5 separate regions of the Homo sapiens genome follow, and all the other regions are linked to region 5. The links are contacts of gene promoters, found by promoter capture Hi-C in human tissues and cell types (Jung and others, 2019). All regions are on one chromosome and are shown on one strand. Each heading gives the region's core, a stretch centred on a gene start or on the middle of the fragment in contact. The rest is flanking DNA. Distances are from core to core; before and after follow the strand shown. Region 1 overlaps MIR99AHG (mir-99a-let-7c cluster host gene). Region 2 overlaps MIR99AHG (mir-99a-let-7c cluster host gene). Region 3 overlaps MIR99AHG (mir-99a-let-7c cluster host gene). Region 4 overlaps MIR99AHG (mir-99a-let-7c cluster host gene). Region 5 holds the start of USP25 (ubiquitin specific peptidase 25).

Evidence for each region. Contacts are between HindIII fragments. The study calls those that stand out against the background at their distance.
Region 1: a fragment that was not itself captured here is called in contact with the fragment with the promoter of USP25 in region 5 in 1 of the 25 tissues and cell types used here (dorsolateral prefrontal cortex).
Region 2: a contact is called between a fragment that was not itself captured here and the fragment with the promoter of USP25 in region 5, in 2 of the 25 tissues and cell types used here (dorsolateral prefrontal cortex and hippocampus).
Region 3: a fragment that was not itself captured here is called in contact with the fragment with the promoter of USP25 in region 5 in 2 of the 25 tissues and cell types used here (IMR-90 fibroblasts and dorsolateral prefrontal cortex).
Region 4: a contact is called between a fragment that was not itself captured here and the fragment with the promoter of USP25 in region 5, in 2 of the 25 tissues and cell types used here (dorsolateral prefrontal cortex and lymphoblastoid cells).

The regions. Positions count from the first base shown.
Region 1 is chr21:16,075,341-16,079,350 of GRCh38, reverse strand. The region is part of intron 2 of MIR99AHG (mir-99a-let-7c cluster host gene); the gene reads right to left. Among named protein-coding and RNA genes, the nearest start is that of MIR99AHG, 6.9 kb to the right of the region's middle. The HindIII fragment of the contact is 3,413 bases long and covers 262-3,674 here.
Region 2 is chr21:16,190,160-16,194,744 of GRCh38, reverse strand. All of the region lies in intron 3 of MIR99AHG (mir-99a-let-7c cluster host gene), which reads right to left. Among named protein-coding and RNA genes, the nearest start is that of SNORD74B, 92 kb to the left of the region's middle. RefSeq lists an enhancer at 149-909. The HindIII fragment of the contact is 3,642 bases long and covers 1-3,243 here.
Region 3 is chr21:16,116,206-16,120,644 of GRCh38, reverse strand. The region is part of intron 2 of MIR99AHG (mir-99a-let-7c cluster host gene); the gene reads right to left. Among named protein-coding and RNA genes, the nearest start is that of MIR99AHG, 48 kb to the right of the region's middle. The HindIII fragment of the contact is 6,190 bases long and covers 1-4,439 here.
Region 4 is chr21:16,214,004-16,218,514 of GRCh38, reverse strand. The region is part of intron 3 of MIR99AHG (mir-99a-let-7c cluster host gene); the gene reads right to left. Among named protein-coding and RNA genes, the nearest start is that of SNORD74B, 69 kb to the left of the region's middle. The HindIII fragment of the contact is 5,714 bases long and covers 1-4,338 here.
Region 5 is chr21:15,727,331-15,731,342 of GRCh38, reverse strand. It overlaps USP25 (ubiquitin specific peptidase 25), which reads right to left and starts at 1,361. Exons shown (of 26, transcript NM_001283041.3): 1 at 905-1,361. The coding sequence starts at 949. RefSeq lists a silencer at 797-1,756. The HindIII fragment of the contact is 10,815 bases long and covers 1-4,012 here.

The DNA of each region.
Region 1 (4,010 bases), core at 719-3,218, 350 kb before region 5:
TTAAAAGGCAATATTACTATAAGATATCCCAAACAGAATGTGTAATTTCTTTGCTTTATGATTTATATACATAGTTCAAACAACAGGTACACCTACAAAATATCATGGCAAAGTTCAGTTGATCGTCATCTTCATTATTAGTACCATGAAAGCATGGATAAAACTTGAAGGGAGTAATAACAAATTGTAATAGATTAGATGAAATTGTAAAAGCATCATAAAATTGGCACATAGGTGTCCAAATATGATGCTATTTATAGTATATTATTTTTCACCTTAATGAGACACCTGAAAATTAGTTGCATCGTTACTATTAATCTAAAAATACTCATGCCTTTGAACATCCCTCTGCCTCAATCACTGGAAACACTTACTGATGCTCTTCTCTACCCAAATACGTCAGTTTCTCTCAGAGGCAGGGAAAGACAGAGATAGAGATGGAGGTGGAGAGAGGGAGCGAGCTCATGAACCTCTTTTTAAAATGAAACCATTTTTAGTTTCAGTCATTCCCAGGATAAGATGAGAAAGAATTCTGATTTAATTAACTTGCATTCACAATCCCCTGAAATCATTTGAACTAATGGGGGTTTTAATGAGAAATATTTTTAAAGAATCTTGTCATTCTCTATTCTATAGAATACATCATACTAGAGTTTGCCTCCTCAGAAGCTTGCATTTTATTTGAAGTCCTGTTGCTCTCATTGACATTGAAACACACACTTGAACAGACTTTGCAAAACTTACAGAAGAGAAAACCTAACAGTACTCCACAGGTCCTCTTATTTAGCCCACACAATTATCTTTCCAGTTAGGCATTACTATCCCCATTTCATAATAAGAAAAGTGAGGCTTGGAGCACTTACAAAGGGTTTTAGGTCAGGTCTTCGGATTAGAATCTATTATTTTCTTCCTGAGTACAATGGAGATTGTTAAAGGACAGTCTACGTGATCAAGTATCTGATTCTTGAACATTAGACACTTGGACTATGGATTAATTGTCTTTACAGAATGCCACTAACTAGGAACCTAACCTCTGGTCATTCTAGGGTATCATGGTCTAAAATATTAGCTCTACCATCGAGCTTTGCAAAAATCAGAATAAATGGTTTCATGTATTTTTACATGTGACTTCGGACATTTGTATTTTCTGATATATACACTGAGCAATGGAGGAAAAAGTAGAATCAATGGATTGAATATTATTAGTTGCCTGAAATTGTAAACTTATATAGATATTATTAAAATAACATAGAGTCTTTTTAAACAACTTTTTAAATGAAACCAATATTTGATGGGATAAAACTGATGATTATAACAATGGTTGACAACTTGTTCAAATAAAAACAAAACTTGGTTAAAGAGGTGAAGTAAAATTAAACTTTAAAAGTATTTATGAAGCATAAATACATCTCTGGTATAGCACTTAACTACACTGCATTAATATTTATTTAAATATATACAAACACATACTCTCTACATTCCATACTTCGAAGAGTAAAGAACATGAATTTGCACATCTTTATAATGCCATCCTTTGCAAAAATGCACTAGAATCCTCACAGTCTTTTAAGGTATGTACTATTGCACAGATGAGAAAACTGGGGCCCGGGGAAGTTATGTAACTTGTCCAAGGTTATGTATCTACTAAGTCATGAAGTTCAGAATCAGAACCAGGCATCTGTACAGAGATTTTATGCTCCTAACCACTTCTCACAGTACCTCATGGAGTTAAGTGATCACTAAGTAGTCATTGACACTATTATCTCTAGTTTTCACTGTGTAAAAATTAACATTCTGAAAATAAATGTTTTAAGTACTTTACTAGTGCTTAAGTCCTATACTTTAAGTGCTTTCTCAGTAAGTTCAGAAGCAATGAAAGGAACTGCTATGTTGACCTTGATTCTTTCCCACAAAGGTAATTATTAGTAATGCGAACATCAAGGAATCTTGCGAGAAAAAATAATATCAAATTCTAACTGTACCGAGAATAGCGTAAGGCATGGGCAAAATCAGAATATGATCCTTAAACCTGCTATTGAGGTCTTTGCACCACATCCATGGGCCTAGTGGCCCCCAAACACAGAGATGATAGTCCTCCTTCACCCTGCATTCCTCAAACCTTCCAAGGAGCAGTGTATTGAGTTCTAGGTATCAGGATCATAGAAGAGGCAAAGGCACAGTGGAGAGCACAGTGGAGTGGAGTTTCATTCAAATGAGAATCATAGGGGTCAAAACTTCTGCTTTTCTAGATTTTTTTAAAAGAGGGTACCATAAATTATGTAACCAAACTAAACACCTCAATTATACATGAACATATATTGATATAGTGTTTTCATTATGAAAATCAATAACAATGTTGAAGTTGGAGTTCATGAGAGGATCATTTTATTGCCTGCACAGTTTCTGACATATGGTAAGTGTACAACATTGTTCTAGAAAGAAATAGAAAATTGAGAAAGAAACTGGACAACATTTCATCAGGAAGCTAAGAAACTACACAATTCTGTTTTCTCCTTTCCCTTCCCCAAATTAAGCTGATTCCCTGAAAGTCAACAACTTGTCAGCTATGCCCTCTAGTCTTGACCACTGTAGATAAAAACTAAAAAATCTAGCATTAGGCATAAAATATATTACTACATATTCAGTAATTGTAAGATTCTTTTAACATCCTGTGGATTGCAGTGGGTTGTAGACACAAGATGTGTAAACAGGAGTGAGAACCTGAACTACCTTACATGTCTGGATAGTCAGGGTCTAAATAAGCCAAAGTGACATTCTGCAACTGCCAAATTAATGAGAATTAATTTTGTCATAAAATAGGTGTTATATTTAATAAGTAAAATATCTAGGAAAAAGAGGAAATGGAAACATTTAGTCTAATACTTATTTTTAGTAATTCAGACTTACAAAGACATTTTACTACTAACATGACCTTACATTTGTCTGGTATGTCACTGTTTAGAAATTGTTTTGGTATGTATTACCTAAATGATCTGATTGGGTGCAGAAATACCAAAATATGAAGAAAATATTAATGTAGATATTATTGCGAACTCAATAGCTTTCAAACTGACCTATAAAATGCTAAGGTAAAAATATATGTGAACATTTAAAAAACTGAACCAGATACACCATTAATGAATGTAATATATATAAAAAATCTGTTTCTACAGCAAACAGCAAAATCACATGTACTGATTATTCAGTTTGGAATGATTAGGAATGCATTCTCTCAAGTCAGAATCCTTCGTTCAAATCCCTCTTTTGCTGCTTGTTAGTCATGTGACTTTGAGGAGTGGCTTAGCCTTTTTGAAACTCAATTTTCTCAGTTTTGTAAAATAAGGATAGTAATTATACCAAAGGATTGATTTGAGAATTAAATGAAAGAATGTGTGCATAGCACATAGTGTAGCATATGGCATATAGTGGAAATATTAGGCCCCAGCAAATATTAGCCATTAACTCAAAGCCTTTTGTTCCTCCTCTTGGTTCAGCAACCAGTTACAGAGCAACCTCACTGATCAATAACAAGATGTGTTATCTTCAGTTCGTGGAAATACTCGGTAAACACCGAAATATATTGATACTGCTTTTAAATCATGTCGTAAGGGTTAAGCAGGAAAAAAAGCCAGAATATGCAAATGTTTTAGGTCAGTTTTATCTATTTCTTTGCCATCTTACAAATAAGCAATTCTCAATCACAAACTTACTAGTTTTGCTGTGTAAGCCTATGCCCTAATATTTACTCCACTTTCCTAATTCAATAATTAATTTTGGAATAAGGACCGTACAATTATGGTATCAATAAGTACCAGTATGGGGGGGTGTTACATTATTTCTATCTTGTTTATCATTACTTTAATAAATTTAGAAAAACAAAATAGTATTCAAATGCACACGGCTGTCAGTTACCACGTCTTAAATTAGGAAGTAAAGTAACATTTTCTTTAAGATGCTTTACATTTTCTCAGTCACTCTCTGAACTCTTAACTGTAATTTTCTAAACAGAA
Region 2 (4,585 bases), core at 173-2,672, 460 kb before region 5:
CTTCTAAGAAATGCTTTTGCTATAATTTCCCTCAAAGCACAACAGATTTCTTAACTTGTTTTACAACATAGAAAGTATATTTTAAATATAATATCTTAAATCTGCACTCACCATGAAAAAGCAACAGTTGCGTAGAGTAAAAGTGTGCTATTTTCTGCCCCTGTTCCATTTCAGTTTTGCCTATGGTTGTCCAACACCCAAAAGCCCAGAGCTGCCACCCAGAGGCCCCTTCCACAAGCTGGCTTATTTGCCTGTCAATCTGAGTGCCGGCTTCTCTATTATGCAGCTGTGCACTTTGCTGAAGTTCTAATATAATTTCCATACGCTTGCCACCGCCTGAAGTAGGCGATTTGTTCTTTCAGTTCAATGAATACTCAAATCACTTTTCAGGTAACTGTAGGATCAAGCTTTAAGTTGTTCACCCTCAAGTTAAGGAGTTCTTGGTAAGAAGTGGGTGGAGAGAAGTAAGCTCACTACAAGGGAATTCAGAGTGTAATCAGAACGCAGAGAGAAACTTCCTCTTTTTTCCTTCCTTGCTAGCCTGAGCTACTAGTGCCTCTTTCACAGAACTTAGGAATGTAAAGGGAGGACGCAAAGAGGCCCCGCCAGACAACCCTTTCTCAATCAATTAGCTTGCAGCCATTACTTGTGACCTTAGGTCACACAGCATAAGTGTGTGGGGCGTGCCTTCAGGGGTCCCAAGGCTACTTATTACAGCTTAGATAACCAAAACCAAGCAGACACTAAAATCTAGAAATACTTTAATAGAAAATGTACTGAAGATGTGACTAAAGGTAAACTCCGAGTTTTTTTTTTTTTTTTTGCAGTAACTTTTTGCAGTAACTACTATCTAATCCAGTCAAATATATTTTTTTTTTTTTTACATTAAGAAATCTAAAACAATGTTTTCCATGTTGGATCAAACAGGATTTAGAATGAAGCAGTGAAACTTTTTTTTATATTAAATTTCAAGCTGGGAATAGAGAAATGACAAATAATATATCATATAGATCACAGGATCATATATGTGTTACTCATATAGCTCAGGTTCCAAGGTCTCATTTGAGTTTTGTAAAGAATGCTGGTTTATTACACCTAACTGCAGAGTAGAACTACTGTAAACAAAGTTCTCTATGCTTAAGGAAGTCAAAATAATATCACTTTAGGGGCTAGGAACAACTATTTTAAACTCTAAAGATTACATACTATCTTAGTATCATGATTTCTCTCATTCTCATAGTTGTTTTAATGAGAATTTCCTTTTGAGCTCTATGTCAGACAAATGTTTTTTCTCTTTAACATTTTTTTAAAATGAGAACTCAAACTAACGGAAAATAGGAGAAACACTAAAGGAAAAGGTAATATTTTAAAACTACAGATTTGTGTAAATTTCATACTGTAAGTTTTCATATTCCTTGAAAACACTAAAAAATAGTAGCCGCCACCATCAATAAATCAATGATACAGAAACATCAGGCAATTTTATTTCAAATTAAATCCATGCTTTTGAATAATACAACCCAATTAAGAAGCACAGGCTTTGATACTGATTGGATTAGCCAATCTCTTCCCTCCAAAAAGGCTGTTACTCAGAAATGGATTTGCCACACCCACGTTTTCTCAACCTTGTTACTTGATGATGCCACAAGGCATGTCTGACTCAGCACAGTGCAGGAATGGCAATATTCCTCATGGATACCTGGCCAACTAAATTGTCTGCAAAGTGGACAGTGACATAAATAAAACAGACAAACCAAAAAAAAAAAATCAAGAATAAATAAGACAGGTGTAAAAAAACAGCGGCCAAATAATACTGTCTGATGGATAGAGTCAATTTTAAAAACTGCAGTAACAAATAATGTGGTAATAGGAGTGTTAAAATCAGTTATGGGTGGGGGTTAGGGCAGAAATTAAGAGTTTCTACTTTCTCCAATATACAATAGAGAGTCACTGATAGGTTTGAAAAAACAGATTGACATTGCCTCTCAATAAATTTTAAATAATAATAATTTGATGTCTTTTAGTGATTCTGTTATGGACGTTTTATATATTGAAAACAGGCATTATTGAAAACCATTTTTGGCTCTTTAGCCAATAGATATGTAGAAAATCAAAAATTCTAATTACTGTTTGAGGAATACCTAGTTTTTAGAAATTTCTACAACTCAGCACCACCCTATCATTGCATGTTTCATCTTACTCTGTTATAAAAAGAGCAAGCTTTTTTTTTTCTTGTTTCTTTCATTTGAGACTAACAAATAACTTCTAAAAGTCAACAAGGCCAGCAGGTCTTATGCATTAGAAGTCTGCAATTAAACACCTGAAGATCTGGCCTCTATTCTGACAGAGCTACATGCACAAAACAAAGGACTTTCTGATAAAAGTGCAAAAAAGGTCACTAATAACCTACATAAAACATAAAACATACATCAGCACTTGAAAGGGCCTTGGTGAGTTCACAGTCCATAATGTATTTTTTTTTAATGGCCAGTTGACTAAAACAACCACAGACATTCTGAATTACATACGGGTTACAGAAAAAAATCCCATTTTAAAAGTGACTGAAAAGATCACTACCAGGATGCTATTGAAAAAAGTTGGTCGGTTTCCACCATCATTTCACGGGGATATTGTCCACTGCTCTAGATGCCGTGGTGATTTTATCAAACATTGCAGAACATTTTTCACTAAGTTCATCTAACTTGAAAAACATCTCAATAGCTTAGATAATTCTACCACTAAAACCCTATGATGTGTATTTAGAGATGCTAAGTTAGAATAAATATGAAAATAATTAAAATTATATTTTAATTAAATAAAAGGCCATTCAAAATGGTATGACATAATAATAATATATGAAGTTACAAAGACATAATTTCAAAACATCACATAATAAAAGAAAATACTTGCTACTTATTATGTCATGTTGATATTTTCTACTCTAATCCTATTATGCATCTATGCATTTGTCCAATCATTTGGAATGTCTTGGAAGATAGTCATTTTGGGATGAAGGAAGAGTTGAACTAAAATCAAAGACCTGAAAAATATTGCCATAAAAATTTTAGTTTTCCATGACATCTGGATAGCAGTCCACCATCACAAGGTGGTCTCAGCTAACTTTTTGTTAAAATACTTAAACTGAAAAGTACATCTCTCAACAATTCTAAAAACTAAGATTAATAGCGGTAATATCTTTACCATTCTTCTAAAGCTAATGATGTTGGGCTAAGAAAAACAGGTGGTCTGCATTGTAGAAAGATTAGTCCTATCCATCTGAAAATTAAGAAGGTATTTTTAACAATTCTTGATTAACTGCAGTCATATTTATGGCCTGTTCCACCAAAACTTGGACTGCCATAATTACATCAGGTATCAATAGAAGGTGCTGGTTCTTAGGGTACATAGTGCGGTGTCCTTATATCACTATCTCTTCCTATTTTGGCATTAGTACCCAAAAACAGAAAGTTGCAGCGAGGTGGAGTTGGGGGAGGACGGGGCAGGGAGGGCTGGCATGTAACACATTACATCCCCCCAAAATTAGTTAAAATGAGTTATACAGTAGGAGAGAGAGGAAGATGGTGAAGAAATGAACTTACTGTACTAGGAATAGTAGCTTTTCATCCTTGTGATATAACAAGGTTTGGGACATAAGAGACCTACTTACTATTGAGAGCAAAGTCAGATTGCATAGATGTGTCCTGGTCTCTAGCTGCTGGGAGGTCCACACACCAACGTGTCACCCAGCTGGAGCAACATGAAGTGGATTTAATCAGCATGAATGGGATTTAACCAGCAAGAAGTGAATAGTAAGAAAACAACAGGAGTTATCTGGTTGTAAACATGACATTGGATAGATCTAAGCTAATCCAGAGTGTTGAGCCAATAAAAAAACAAATATAAAGGTGGAGCCTATACACAAATACTACAGAGAAAATGGGATAAGAACATTTTTAAAAGGAGAGCAATAAGTAAATATACTACTATTAAAACAGGTGAAAACAGGGATTTTAAATAAAATTCACAAAGCCATGTTCCCTATCATACAGGACAAGAAGGAGGAAATGGCTTAAAATAAAAGGAAGAAAATGAAACGGAGGTATACACTTAAAAATAAAAAAAAGAAAAGAAAGAAACCATAATGGATTTAAAAAAAAATGAAGTAAGGATGATAAATGACACTGGAAAATTACAACAGTGAAATCAATGACAAACTTTAAAAAATAAGAGATGTGTTTGAAATCTGTAGCAACAATATAGGTAAGCTTGCTGGAAGAAATCTTCTAATATTTGATTTCACATGTTTTTAAATCTAAAATGTCACAAAACATAAGGAAAACTTAAAAGTATATTCTGTGTTCTACCCAAAAAGACACAGGCACTTGTGTGTTCATCACAGCACTATTCATAATAACAAAGACATGGAATCAACCTAGATACCCATCAGTGGTGGACTGGATTAAGAAAATATGGTACATACATACCGTGGAATACTACACAGTCATGAAAAATAATAAAATCATGTCCTTTGCAGCAACATAGATGCAGCTGGAGGCCACTATCCTCAGCGAATTAGTGCAGGAAC
Region 3 (4,439 bases), core at 546-3,045, 390 kb before region 5:
CATCCTTAACAAAGTGAAAAGTCAAGCCTGCTGTGAGGGAGAAGATATTTGTAACTCGAATAACTAACAAGGGCTTATATCAGGAATATATAATGAGCATCTATAAATCAATACGAGAAGGTCAGGCAACCTGATTTTGTAAAAAGGGAGAGGGGACTTGAACAGGCATTTTACAAACTGGATATCCAAATAGCCAATAAGCACACTAAAAGAAAGATACTCAACCTCACTCATAATGGGGAAAATTCTAGTTAAAAAAAGCAATGAGTTACTACATTCACCAATACATTTGGCTTATGTTGAAAAATCAATCAATAAAATTTGCCACGTAAACATTTTAAAGGGAAGAGCTATTACTGAAATTCGACATCCATTTATGATTTTTTAAAAACTCAACAAACTAGAAACAAATGGGCACATTCTTCCATATAACAAAGGGTAGCTACAAAAGGAATTTTCTGCAATTACTTAATGCTAAATCTGCAATGGTAAGACATTAAGCACAAGACAAAGATATTCATGCCACCATTTTTATTCAACATGTCAGTATTGATAGCTGTCAATATTTGCAGATGATGTAGCTTTTTGAAATAGAAAATAGAAATAATCTACAAATTGATGGAATTAATAAGAGTTTAGCAAGGCCATTTTTTATAAAACCAGTATACCATAATCAATTTTATTTTTAAACATCAGTAACAAAATATAAGGTACAACTTATCATAGTGTACAAAAATTAGGCAACAAGGAAAAAATCAAAGAAAAGATATGCACCAATTCTAAAAGTTTATGGAGAGAAATTAATGATGCAAGTGGAGATATATATCATGTTCATGAATGGCAATATAGATATGTCAGTCCTTCACAAATTGATCTACAGACTCAGTGCAATACCAACCAACATCACAACAGAATTTTTGACTATACAGCTGATTCTAAAATGGAAATGAAATTGAAAGAGCCATGAATAGCTAAGTACGCTTGCATGCAAATAAAAATGGGAGGGCTAGCTCAACTGATATCAAAGCTTACAATAAAATAGATTAATATTAAGATACCGCAGTATTAGCAAAGGGAACAGTACAAAGACCAAGAGAAAGCAATAAAGATCTTGTGGAAAAAACTGATACATACATCGACCTTTTATTTAGGTGCCTGCATAATAATAAGGAAATAACTGCCTTCTCAGGGTACACTGCTGGCACAATTTTTAGAGCTTACACTAATATTTGGGGAATCTTTTTGTGTCTTAATGAAAATGGTCTTTATAGACTCTCCTTAGCAAATGCCTATATTTCAATTATGCTCATTCTCCTAAAACAGCTCTTTTGCTGTGCTATTAAAATCAGGTAAATTCTCTAAGTTATAATAGTACTGTCAACAAAAACCAGATATGTAATTTTGAAAGGGTAGAAAGTTTAAAAAGTCATGATGAACACATCTGGTGTAGATTATTGCTATAAAAGTATTTATTGCTATAAAGATATTTTATAGGTACAGCCTAAAAAATGTTCAATAAATAAAAAACTATTTCAAATGATTTTATTTTTTACCCACTACCTAGATTCTTACCAAAGTAAGAGCAGCATTAAAAAGTAGATGCTGTACCCCTCTTTCCAATATGTAATTGGAAAGCAGACTGAAATAATGCCTCAAGGTTAATCTTCCAAAAACCTATTTTAATGCTTTCTTTATAAAACTTTGTAATATGTTTCTTTCAAATTACTATTAATATCATTAGTGCTTATTAAAAATGTAATATATTGAGTGTTAAAGTGAATATATAGGTATTAAAAACAGATAAATTTTCCAAAATTGTATTTTCATCATATTGACATTAATTTCCACATTTGGTGACTCAGAAACTAGTATTGTAGTTTTGAATGGAATATATGTAGTATATAATATAAATACATTTTTGTTTCAATTTAGCCTTTTCCACTAAATTTTATCATATTAAAATGTTAAGAACTTGGTAAATTTTTTAAACTTATGAAAGAAACAAACATTTTGTCTTTCACATTCAAGCAGAATGTGGACTTTTACTTTACAATATGAACATTTCCATATTTTTAATTCTTTAGATACGATCCACTTTTTTCTAAAAACAAAATACCCAGTGAACTTAATTATCAGTTATTAAATAATTTTAATTATTTATACACTTAACTATTAAGTATATAAAACCACATGAGGTAATAAATCTACTGAAAACTCTTGAAAATTTCTAAGTCGCATTGAAAATTGCTAAGTCGGATATTTTTAAGGAGTTGTTGATGTTAGAAGTGGTCACTGCAAATATATGCCCTACTTTTAGGAAAGAAATACTGTTAGAGCTCTCTTCACGTTACAGAATTAGCACAGAAATCTGCTTCCAATTAAAGAAACTGTGGGAGAACCCAGCTGTATTTAAAATTTGGCAAACGTATTAAACTGTGCTCCAAATGCTTTGGTTTCAGCAAAGCCTATACGGTATTTTTTCATGTCTTTTCCTCCTTAACTTTAAAACACATGTCCAGAGAATGGATCTGTCAGCGTCTCCTTCCAGTTACAATGATTAGAAAAAATTTCAATATTCAATGCCTGCGGTATTTTCTCCCTCTAACACACACAAAGGGTGGAAAAGAATATTCATGAGGTCACCTGTGTAAACCAAAGGATTTATATCTTGGTTGTCAGAGTGTTTACAAAATGATTCACTTTTACATAGAACCAAGAAGCTAAGTTTTGCCAACAGCTGATGGTACTCAAGCTATGAGTGGTTTGGATTTAATCTGAAATATAAAAGCCAAGAAGATTGGCTTTTATATGAAACAAGAAGATTGTTTCAAGATAGTTTTAAAGTCCCCACAACTACTTTTTATGACCCATGCAATAACATTTTGAAAACTATGGTTCTACATCAATTTGGTTATGGAGAAAATGTTTTCTAGGGATACTAATTCAAATATACAAATTAGAAGGACTTTTGAAATTAGAATGAGTAGAATGAAAATAGTATGGAAAAACCACTAAAAGTAATCTAGAGGATGTAAAAAAAATCGTAGAGATCTATCTTCAGAACTTACATCATCCATTTCCCCTTTAAAAGTAGAAGAAATCAGCATGTTTTTCTTTCATTAGCTCACTCAGTAACAGTTCTTTCATTTTCAAGCTTTAGTAACAGAAAGTTCTAGAAAGGCGAGAGTTTTTAAAGTGCAAGTAGACGTCACACCTTTAATGTCGTATTTCCTAGCTTTAAAAGACCATCTATAAGCAGAAGCAATATCTTTTCTTCCTTGGGATAGATGGAGCACAAAGTAATACAATTAGAAATTACTAACACATCTATAGAACTTACTGTATGTCAAGCACTATTCAAAATCTTTTACATATATTAATGTATTTAATCCTTCCAATAATCCTATGAGGTAGATACTGCTGTTATATTATCAATATTCTACACACAGAGACAAACAAAAGTTAGACACAGACAAATTAAGTAGAATGTGAAATTAAGTGCAGCTATTGCGTTGTACAACTGGAATTCAAACCCAGGCACAAATTCTTGAGCCTTTAAACACTGTATTATGATATAAGGAAGCATGACAAAATCAAGTATAAACAGATTGTTACTTATTAAGCTCTTGCACCTCCAGGATATGATTTAATCTATTGGAATTTCAGTTTTTTTCATGTGAAAAATACCAAGTATGGCATAGAATTATTTATATTTCAAAGAATGTGAGTTCCCAGAATATATTGACTATATAGTACATATCAGTTCCTACCAACACAAATTTTTCACATGCCTATTATTCACAGCTCAGTTATAAAACAATGCAGTATTCCTGGTTCAACCTGGAGTAGTAAACATTTTTTTTTTACCTCCTTTCCCTTTAAAAATTCTAAAATGTCTGTGAAAGGGTTAAAAAAAAAAAGACTGAGGGTCCCCTTGAGGACAAGAAAATACCAGAGAAGAAGGCAACGAATAGGAAATTTTAATAAAATAATGAAGCTGAAAAGAAGGTGGCCAAGTGGTGAAAGGCAACATATAGAAGAAACCTCAAATCTAAATATCCAAAAGCATAAAGAAAGCCAAAGGAAATCATCATACACTACATGCCAAAAAAAGGCTCAAAAATGAGACAGGGTGAACCCTGAAAACAGAGAATAAGTGAAATAGAAAATAGGGAAACTAGTTGAAAATCTGCGCGAAAAGCAACTAGATTTTTTGGTGATCAGCTCTCACTAGTCTCTTCTTTTTCAAAAATGGAGGACTGCTCTATGGCAGGGCTGAACTAAAAGGACACTAAACTCAGAAACAGTGTACAGAAGGGAAGGCTTGGGTGGCATCTGAAAATAGAGAAATTAAATACCACCTTATGCTGATTGGTGGACCTCCACACCACCAAACTCACTTGTTACTAGGCTCTGAGAAAAGTGGCAGCCATCCTTAT
Region 4 (4,511 bases), core at 232-2,731, 490 kb before region 5:
GTGAAACCCCATCTCTACTAAAAATACAAAAAAAAATTAGCCAGGCGTGGTGGCGGGCGCCTGTAGTCCCGGCTACTCGGGAGGCTGAGGCAGGAGAATGGCATGAACCTGAGAGGAGGAGCTTGCAGTGAGCCGAGATTGCGCCACTGCACTCCAGTCTGGGCGACAGAGTGAGACTCCGTCTCCAAAAAAAAAAAAAAAAAAAAAAAAAAAAAAAAAAAAAAAAAAAAAAAAAAAATTTATCTATATATATCTATATATATATATAGATATATATATGTTATATATATATATACACACATAGCAGTATATAAACTCATCTTTCCTGTAAAAAATCTGAACAATACAAATGTATTTGAAGTAAATTTTCCTTCCCCACCTTTTCTTAATTTTATTTTCCTCCCCAGAGGTTAAGTGTTTAGTGTATATCATTCAAGTTATATGATACATTCACATAATAGATCTTTTTTAATATACATGTCATTTATAAAATGTATTGTTCTAAGTCTTGCATTTTCTCTTAATAGTAAGACTTAGAGACTTTGTTGCTAGAAGTATAAACTGTCAAGAACAATTTTGAAATTCAACTTTTAACTAGGAATTCCACTTCTGCAAAAAATGGCATATACAGTGGTGATTATTATAGGGATGTTCAAAACAATGAAGCAGAGGAAATGAAATAACCATCCAACAATAGAGGAATGTTTCAATATATGGTATGATGATAAGTCCATGCTATGAATTATCATGCTGCTGGTTTAAAAGTATGAGGCAGATCTAAATATAGTGAATTTATGTACCTATAAGTTATTTCACAATGTTTCTCTGGAATTATTAATTCAGCCTTATTTCCAAGCAATATTCCTTACCATTTGACTCTCACACTCTTGTCAACCACCATCTTAGAGATATATTTTTCATAGAGACATAGGAAGGGATTAGTGGAAGATGGAAGATGGAGGATCCTGAAAGCTTGGTAAGCGGCAGGGTCCTATTTTGCCTTATATTAAATAACACAGAAGGAAAGAAAGACCTAGTAATAGAAAGACCTAGTAATAGGAATACCTGGGCCATGTTAATCACATGCATAGCTAAGCTAGTTTTTATTTGCAGAAAGTAACAGCAAGGAACTGATTGAAAACTAAACTATACATAGTACTTAAGATTGCTGCACATAGCTGCAAAACAGGCCCAGGTGCCAAGTTATTAAAAAAAGATTAATGAAATGAAAGCAGAAATACTAGGTGTGAAATATGAGAATAAAAGGGAAAGAAATTATAAATATTCAAAAAAGAGCTTAAGAAAAAAATGAGAAATACTTTTAGACATGTGATATAAATAGTTTTAAAATATTCATCTTCTCTCAGAGTAATAAAGAGAGGGCTAAATATTACGCTTAAAAAGATCAAAGGAAGAGGAAAGTTATTCTATAACTAAAGATAAATTCACAATTTTATAAATAAAAGTTTCAAATGTGGAACTTTTTTCAAAAATGTCACTTAATCTACTTCATATTCTCTCCTTTGAGACGAGAGAAAACTTACTCTGACACATTTTTTGTGAATTATTTTTCAAGGTCAGATTAAATAAACATATTCTAAGAAGATTGTTCACATAAATTATCTCATTTAATTCTCTCAGCAGCCCACTGGGGTAGAAATTCATAGCTGCATTTTACTACTGGATAAACGGAGGCTCAGAAAGTATAAGAAACTCAGCCAGCCGGAACACTTCAGAGCTGGAATTTGAATTCCCATTTGTTCACTACAGCTTTAACACTCTTTCTATCTCATCACAGTTGCTTTAAAATCATTATGTAAGAATGCCACCAGAATGGAAATGAGTACATTGCATTCAGTTTTAGTTAGCTTTTTCTGATTAACAGATACATTCACATTACATATTTTAGGGTAGTGTTTATAAAATGCATAATGACTATCACTTAATAAACCTGATTATACAGAGAGTTGTCAGACATATCACCCTCTTTTTATGTGGTAGGGTGGATTACAAGGCTCCGAAATGAGTTCTTTACTGTTTTTTTGTTGTTTTGGGTGCTCTGTTTAAAGACAAATTTTTTGTAATTAAATAGCAATCAGACATTTAAAAGACAAGCTGATCTCAGTACTGTATTTATGTAAGGCAGACAAAGATTGCATTTTCTATTTTGTGGTCTGGACACCTGGGGCACAAACTTCAGTAAGAGGGTCAACATCACTGAAATAATCCCTCATGTATCTGTCATATAAACAAGGCTTTAAATTCTGAAAACTCCATATAACAAAAAGAGATAAGTATTTTTCACATTACTATTATGAAGTGCCAATGTTTCTGTTCTTAGTTGATTTGTTCTTGTAGCCACTTGTATAACTTTTTAAAAATCATTTTCCACTTAATAAAATGCTTTGCACTGGCAAAACATAATTATGTTATGCACGAGCCACAGAGATAATTATAGTTCCTCCAGACATTCTTAATCTGTATTAGTGGAAACAAGTTACAGGGTGATGAGAACCTCACATATCATTATCCAATCTCAACAGCTGCTTAGTTAATCTTGCCATAATCAAATCCAAGTTATCATCCTATCATTTCTAACCTGCCATGTTCTTCTGAATTTCTGCTGATTTAAAGACATATCTATGCACTGTTGTAAGTCCTCAGATCTATTTAAGACTGCACTATGATTAATGTGTCTCACTAAGCCAAATGTCCTTTTTCTAACATAATTTAAGACTGCACTGTGTCCATATTTAGAATTCAACCTAACAAATAAGTGCTTGCTGAACTTCTCCTACATCCTTCGTATTAAAGGAAAGAGGGAGCCTTATGAGTATTAGAGAATCTGCTATATGTTCACAAGCAACCAAATCCTGCCATGGAGAAAATAAATTCATTTACACTATGATATGTCCAATTTTCCATACCTCTTAATTTGCCTAACACTTAAAAGTAGCAATCAAATGTCAAGTTTTCAGCTCAGTAATCTATCATCAACTAATTATCATCAATATAGGAAGCATTCCTTTTTAGAGCTGTATTAGAACCTTACTAATTGTAGTTTAGTACTTTGTCCTGTTTGGTTTTGCTTATTCCAAGTGCCAGGATTTCCACCATTTCCGATGGAACTTTCCTCTGTAATTGAACAAATTTCACTACTACGTTGTATTTCCTGTGATTGAGTTTATCCTCTTCCTGATGATTATTAAGCTGTGGACAATTACCTTAAATCTTCAGGACAAAAAATTAATTCTTCTTTGTTTTTAGCAATCTAGGAGACTCAATAATCATTTGTGAGTTTCCCAAGATTAATAAGCTTGTTCTTATCTGTGAAGTGTCGCCATCATTGAAACCATTTCTCAATGATGGCAATATTATTGCTTTTGACAAGCAAGGAAAAAGTTACAAAGGACTGGCTAAAATATTTAAGCCTTTCTATACACACCAAGAGACTCCAGGACTCCCTCTTTGGGGAACAAAAAGTGCAGGTAAATGAAAATCCTCCTTTTGTAAAAGAACTAGAGAATACATCCTACCTGCCAGGTGCGGTGGCTCAGCCTGTAATTCCAGCACTTTGGGAGACCGAGGCAGGTGGATCACCTGAGGTCGGAAGTTTGAGACCAGCCTGGCCAACATGGAGAAAACCTGTCTCTACTAAAAAAAATACAAAATCAGCTCGGCGTAATGCCGCATGGCCGTAATCCCAGCTACTTGGGAAGCTGAGGTAAGAGAGTCACTTGAACGTGGGAGGCGGAGGTTGCGGTGAGCTGAGATCATGCCATTGCACTCCAGCCTGGGCAACAAGAGCAAACCTCCATTTCAAAAAGAAAAAAGAAAATACATGCTACTACTTAGAGTGAAAAAACGATAGGAAAACAAACCCAACAGGTACTCATACATATACTCATCCTTATTAATATGTCTCACTGATGACTCACTAAATCCTTCAGGGTCTTCAAGACACCTGAAAAAGTTTCTTTATTCTTATTTTAATGTGTGCTTATAATTCTTAATCTGGAAATATTTTATATTAATTGTAAGTATGTTAGCCCATTCAAATCATACCTATATGCAATTTGCTCTGTTTTACGTATCAAACCCCTGTTACTAATCAATAAACTCACTGAAAGACTTACCCAGTTATTATATATGCAGACTTAGCTTCAGAGGTTGTTTTACTCCCCATATTCTATTTTTTTCACTGCCTTATTTAAATAAGTCAAGTTTCCTATATACTTAGTCCTTCTGTAGTACTGTCCTGCAGAGCAAAAGAAATGGTGATGAGGCATAGCAAAACAAAATAAAAATTTTCCCTCCAAGTGCATACTATTTAAAAATCAGTGGGAGTTTATTTTTTAAAAACTCAAAAGTATTCTGTTGTGGTTTTATTCCAACTCAACAAAATTTAACAAGAGCACCTGATTCTTACACATTTTCAGCCTAAATTCTCAAATCACAGATTCTAGTACATGAGATAGATTTGAAGAAATGCCAAAATCAAAAACCAAGAG
Region 5 (4,012 bases), core at 112-2,611:
GTTTACTCTTTTGCCCAAAATGCTTTTCACGCAAATTAAAAATTAAAAAAAGAAGTTAAATCATGGCCAACTACTCTTCAGAACATGGTGCAAGCCATGATAGTGCACTTAAGATTCTGAAAGCAAAATCTAAAATAGCAGAATGATCTCTATTCACTTTAAAGATATAAAGTTTCACAAACAGTTTTTTAATTGTTTTCTTTAGTGAGTGACCATTTGAATGTGTGACTGATGCAAGAGTAAAGGGTGAACGAAAGAACAAGGTCAAACTTAGGGGACAAAAGATTCCTGGAATAACATGGCCAGAAAGGTTTCCTCTCTTAGGGACAGTTTCTATATTGAAAAAAAAAAAAAAAAAAAAAAAAACAGAAAAGAAGAAGAAGAAAGGGAAACCTTAAAAGGAAAAGAAACCAAGCAAACCACCTACTTCTAGAGTCCACCTGGTCAACACGCCTGCCCCGCGAGGCAGGTAATTCGATTTTGGTGGAGACCGTTTTGCAAAATAGCAGGCCTGGTACACTACTACCTTTGAAAGACAAAATCGGTTCAGAAAGGATGACAACTAGCTATTCTTTCTCATTTAAGGGGAGAGAATAAAGTTTCATTAAGATGCCACACAGAGCACTGTAGGAATGTGAGGGTCGCTCTCAATACCTGGCACCGTCTGCTACGGGAAAACAATCGGCAGAAGGAAGTGGATTGAAGCCCGCAAACTACACTCTGCTTCCCACACGCAGCTGGGCTCTGGGCGCGACGCCCCCGAGGCGATGGGCAGGGGCCGGGGGTGACCGGGGAGGAAGCCCGGGAAGGCGGCGGCGGCGAGGCCGGGGCGCCCGGCCGCAGCGGGAGAGGACAGCCCGTCGGAAGGAGAAGTGGGGCCCGCCGGCTGGCGGACTCGCCTCACCTTCTGCGCCGCGCTCTGCTGCAGCACGTTCTGCTCCACGGTCATGGCCCCCGCGGCGGCGGCGGCGGCGGCGGCGGTGGCGCCCGGCTCCTCGCGCCTCCGCCGGCCCTGGCTGCCGCGCTCCGCCGAGCTCCAGGGAGCGGCGCGGACGGCCTGGGAGGACAGCGCCCCCGCCAGCCAGGCGCGAAGGCGATGGCGGCCGGCGTGCGCGGGCACCGCGGGCAGGCGGCGAAACGCCGACTGTGAGGGCCACGGCGGCCGCCTCACGTCTCCACGCGGCCCGCCTCAGCGCCGCTCGTCCGCGGCGGCCCGGGCCATGAGCGGGCGGAGGACGCCGGGGCACGGGAGAGCGCGAGCCAGTCGGGCGGCGTCACGCGTTCGCACGTTCCTTTGCTGCCGGTCCGCGGGCTGCTTTGGGGAAGGGAGAGAGGGGACGGAGGGAGCGGCCGCCCGGAATGGCGTTGTCCTCCTCCCTCCGCGAGTCCTCCTCCCTCCCCTCCCCCACGCGCCATCCCCGCCCCCGCCCGGCGGCTCCTCCCCCGCAGAGCCCCGCCCGCCGGCCGCCCTAACCCTACATTGTGACCCTCCGGGCGGCGGGGCGGGGCCGCCATGGAGCCCCGCCCCTCCCTGCGCGGGCCTGGCGTTCCCGGGTGGGGCGAGGGCGCGCCTGGCTGCCTGGCCCGGGAGCCGCCCCTGCGGCAGGTTGCGCGACGCTGGCGCTGGGCTTCGGGGAGCGCGACTGGAGGCCGGAGGGCAGCGTTCCTCCCTGCGCCCAGGGCTTGTCGGATCCCTAGCTTACCCAAAGCCTCCAAAGCAAACATTTCCCTCCATGCCCATAACGTCCCAAAACTGCGTAGGGTCCCGAACTCCGGCCCCTTTCTGTGTCACGCGTTCTCTCCCCTCGCCTTTCTAGGAATTTCACAAGCCTTGAACTTGCCTGAAGGGAAAAGTCAAATAAGCAAAGGGTTGCCAGAAATCTTTATGCTGGGAAGTACTTTTCTCCTTAACTAATCATTACGTAAATGAATATAGACATTTTCTATCTACCTTCATTCATTCGAATATGTGTCAGTCACTGCTAGGCTCTGGAAAAATAAAGTTTATCTTCCCAAGACTTAATATAAATGAAATAGGATCTATCTAGCAAACAACCTTACAAAAATATCACTGCCTAATGATACATAATTCTAATATCCCAGTTGCCAAATTAAGCAAACAATTAACTACCATGCATGGAATGCTTGACTATATATGGAATTGTAAGGAAAATCTAACATTAAGAAAGCAATCTCTAGCCACAAAAATATCTCGAGTTCCAGGAGCTAATCTGGGAACGGAGGTGAGAGTGCAGCAGTGTGAGGAGAGAAATTATCAATGCATATTGTCACAAATAGAATACACTTGAAAATCCGGGTATAATTTTTAATCCAATGACAAGGAAAGCAAGCTTGGCAAATGCTAATTGAAATAGTATGTGGTGTTATTTAATAATCATGGATTATAGTAGCTCTTAAGGCTTTGTAACAGTTCTGTGCACTTTACAACCATCTTTGTTCTGCAGCTCAGATGTCTGGTACCACCTGTTGTCACCTTTTCCTTGAAGCTTCATATTTGTTGACTCATTTGATATTTAACAAATTGCAAATCTTATTATATTAATATCCTATGTCTTTTCTAGAGGAAATGAAAAGTCATGAAACGGTTGGAAACAGAAATTTAGAAATACTGTCACATCTCTAATCTCACGTATCGATTTTTTTATAACTCTGAAGCCCAAGGAGGGTGACCTGTCAAAGAGAGCTTATCAAAACCCATTTTTCTTCATTTATAGATCAAAGTTTCTTCTTTTCTTGTTTATATGCTAACTTCATGTTTCTCCATATGAGGGTTTTGGTTTTTTGGTTTGTTTGTTTGTTTTTTAGAAATCAAGCTCATACATTTGAATTCAAGAAAATTAAATTTAACATAAAAATCTAGTAATCTAGTACCATGGGAGGAAAAATGTTGCCAGATACTAAGGTTTAATTTCAAGAATTTGGCAATACAACTTTTCTCTGAGTTAAATTTGTTACTTCCATACAGAAAAAAAAAGATGATCTTACAATAGATAATCATCAAATAGAGCTTTTATATGGTAGACCTATTTGCCCACTGAGACTGTTCATTTTCAGCTTACTTCTGAGGGTTTCCTACTTACTCAGCATTTCTTTAAATATTTTTAACTGTTGTACTGAAGAACATTGAGAAGAAAATTTCAAGTTTCCTCATAGGCATTCCTTTTTAGAAGGCTTACAATTGGGATGAATAATTAGAGAAATTTGAGCAATTGAGATAAATTGGCACACAAAACCCATCGCTGGGATTTCCTAACTCATTTTTTAAATTTGCGCCGTGACAATTGTGTTGTATGAGTCAGCTTTAATATGCATGTGTGTCGGAATTATATATCCTCAAGATATTATTTAATAACTTCTAAACTGCTACATTACTCTATGTTGTTGACATTCAGGTAAAAATGTTAAGTGACATATTTCATATAATATGAAATATTTTGTGTGTAACAATGCTGTGGTTTGAATGTATCCCCCCAAAAACGGTGTGATGGAAACTTAATCCCCAATGCAACAGTGTGGAGGTGGGCCCTAATAAGAGGTGATTCAGTTATGAGAGCTCTGACCTCATGAATTAATTAATGGTGCTATCACAAATGTGCAGTCCCTATCAAAAGGACAGTTTCCTTATAAAAGGACGAGTTTGGCTCCTTCTTGCCTCTTTCCCTTTTCCTTTCCTTCCCTCTCTCTCTTTCTCCCCTTCTCTTAGCTCTTCCACCATGCAATGATACAGGAGGAAGGCCTTCACCAAATGACGGCCCATCCATCTTGACCTTCCCTGCCTCCAGAACTGTGAGCCAACAAATTTCTGATCATTATCAATTACCCATTCATAGGTATTATGTTGTAGCAGCATAAAATAGACAAAGACAAACTGCAAGACTATTTTTCTGTTTTGGGTCAAAACGTTATTTCTAGCAATACTCAGTATTGTATTTTATATGTCAACTAAGAAAATTGGTATTCTTCCGCCTTAGGTATCTTTAGAAAGGGGTTA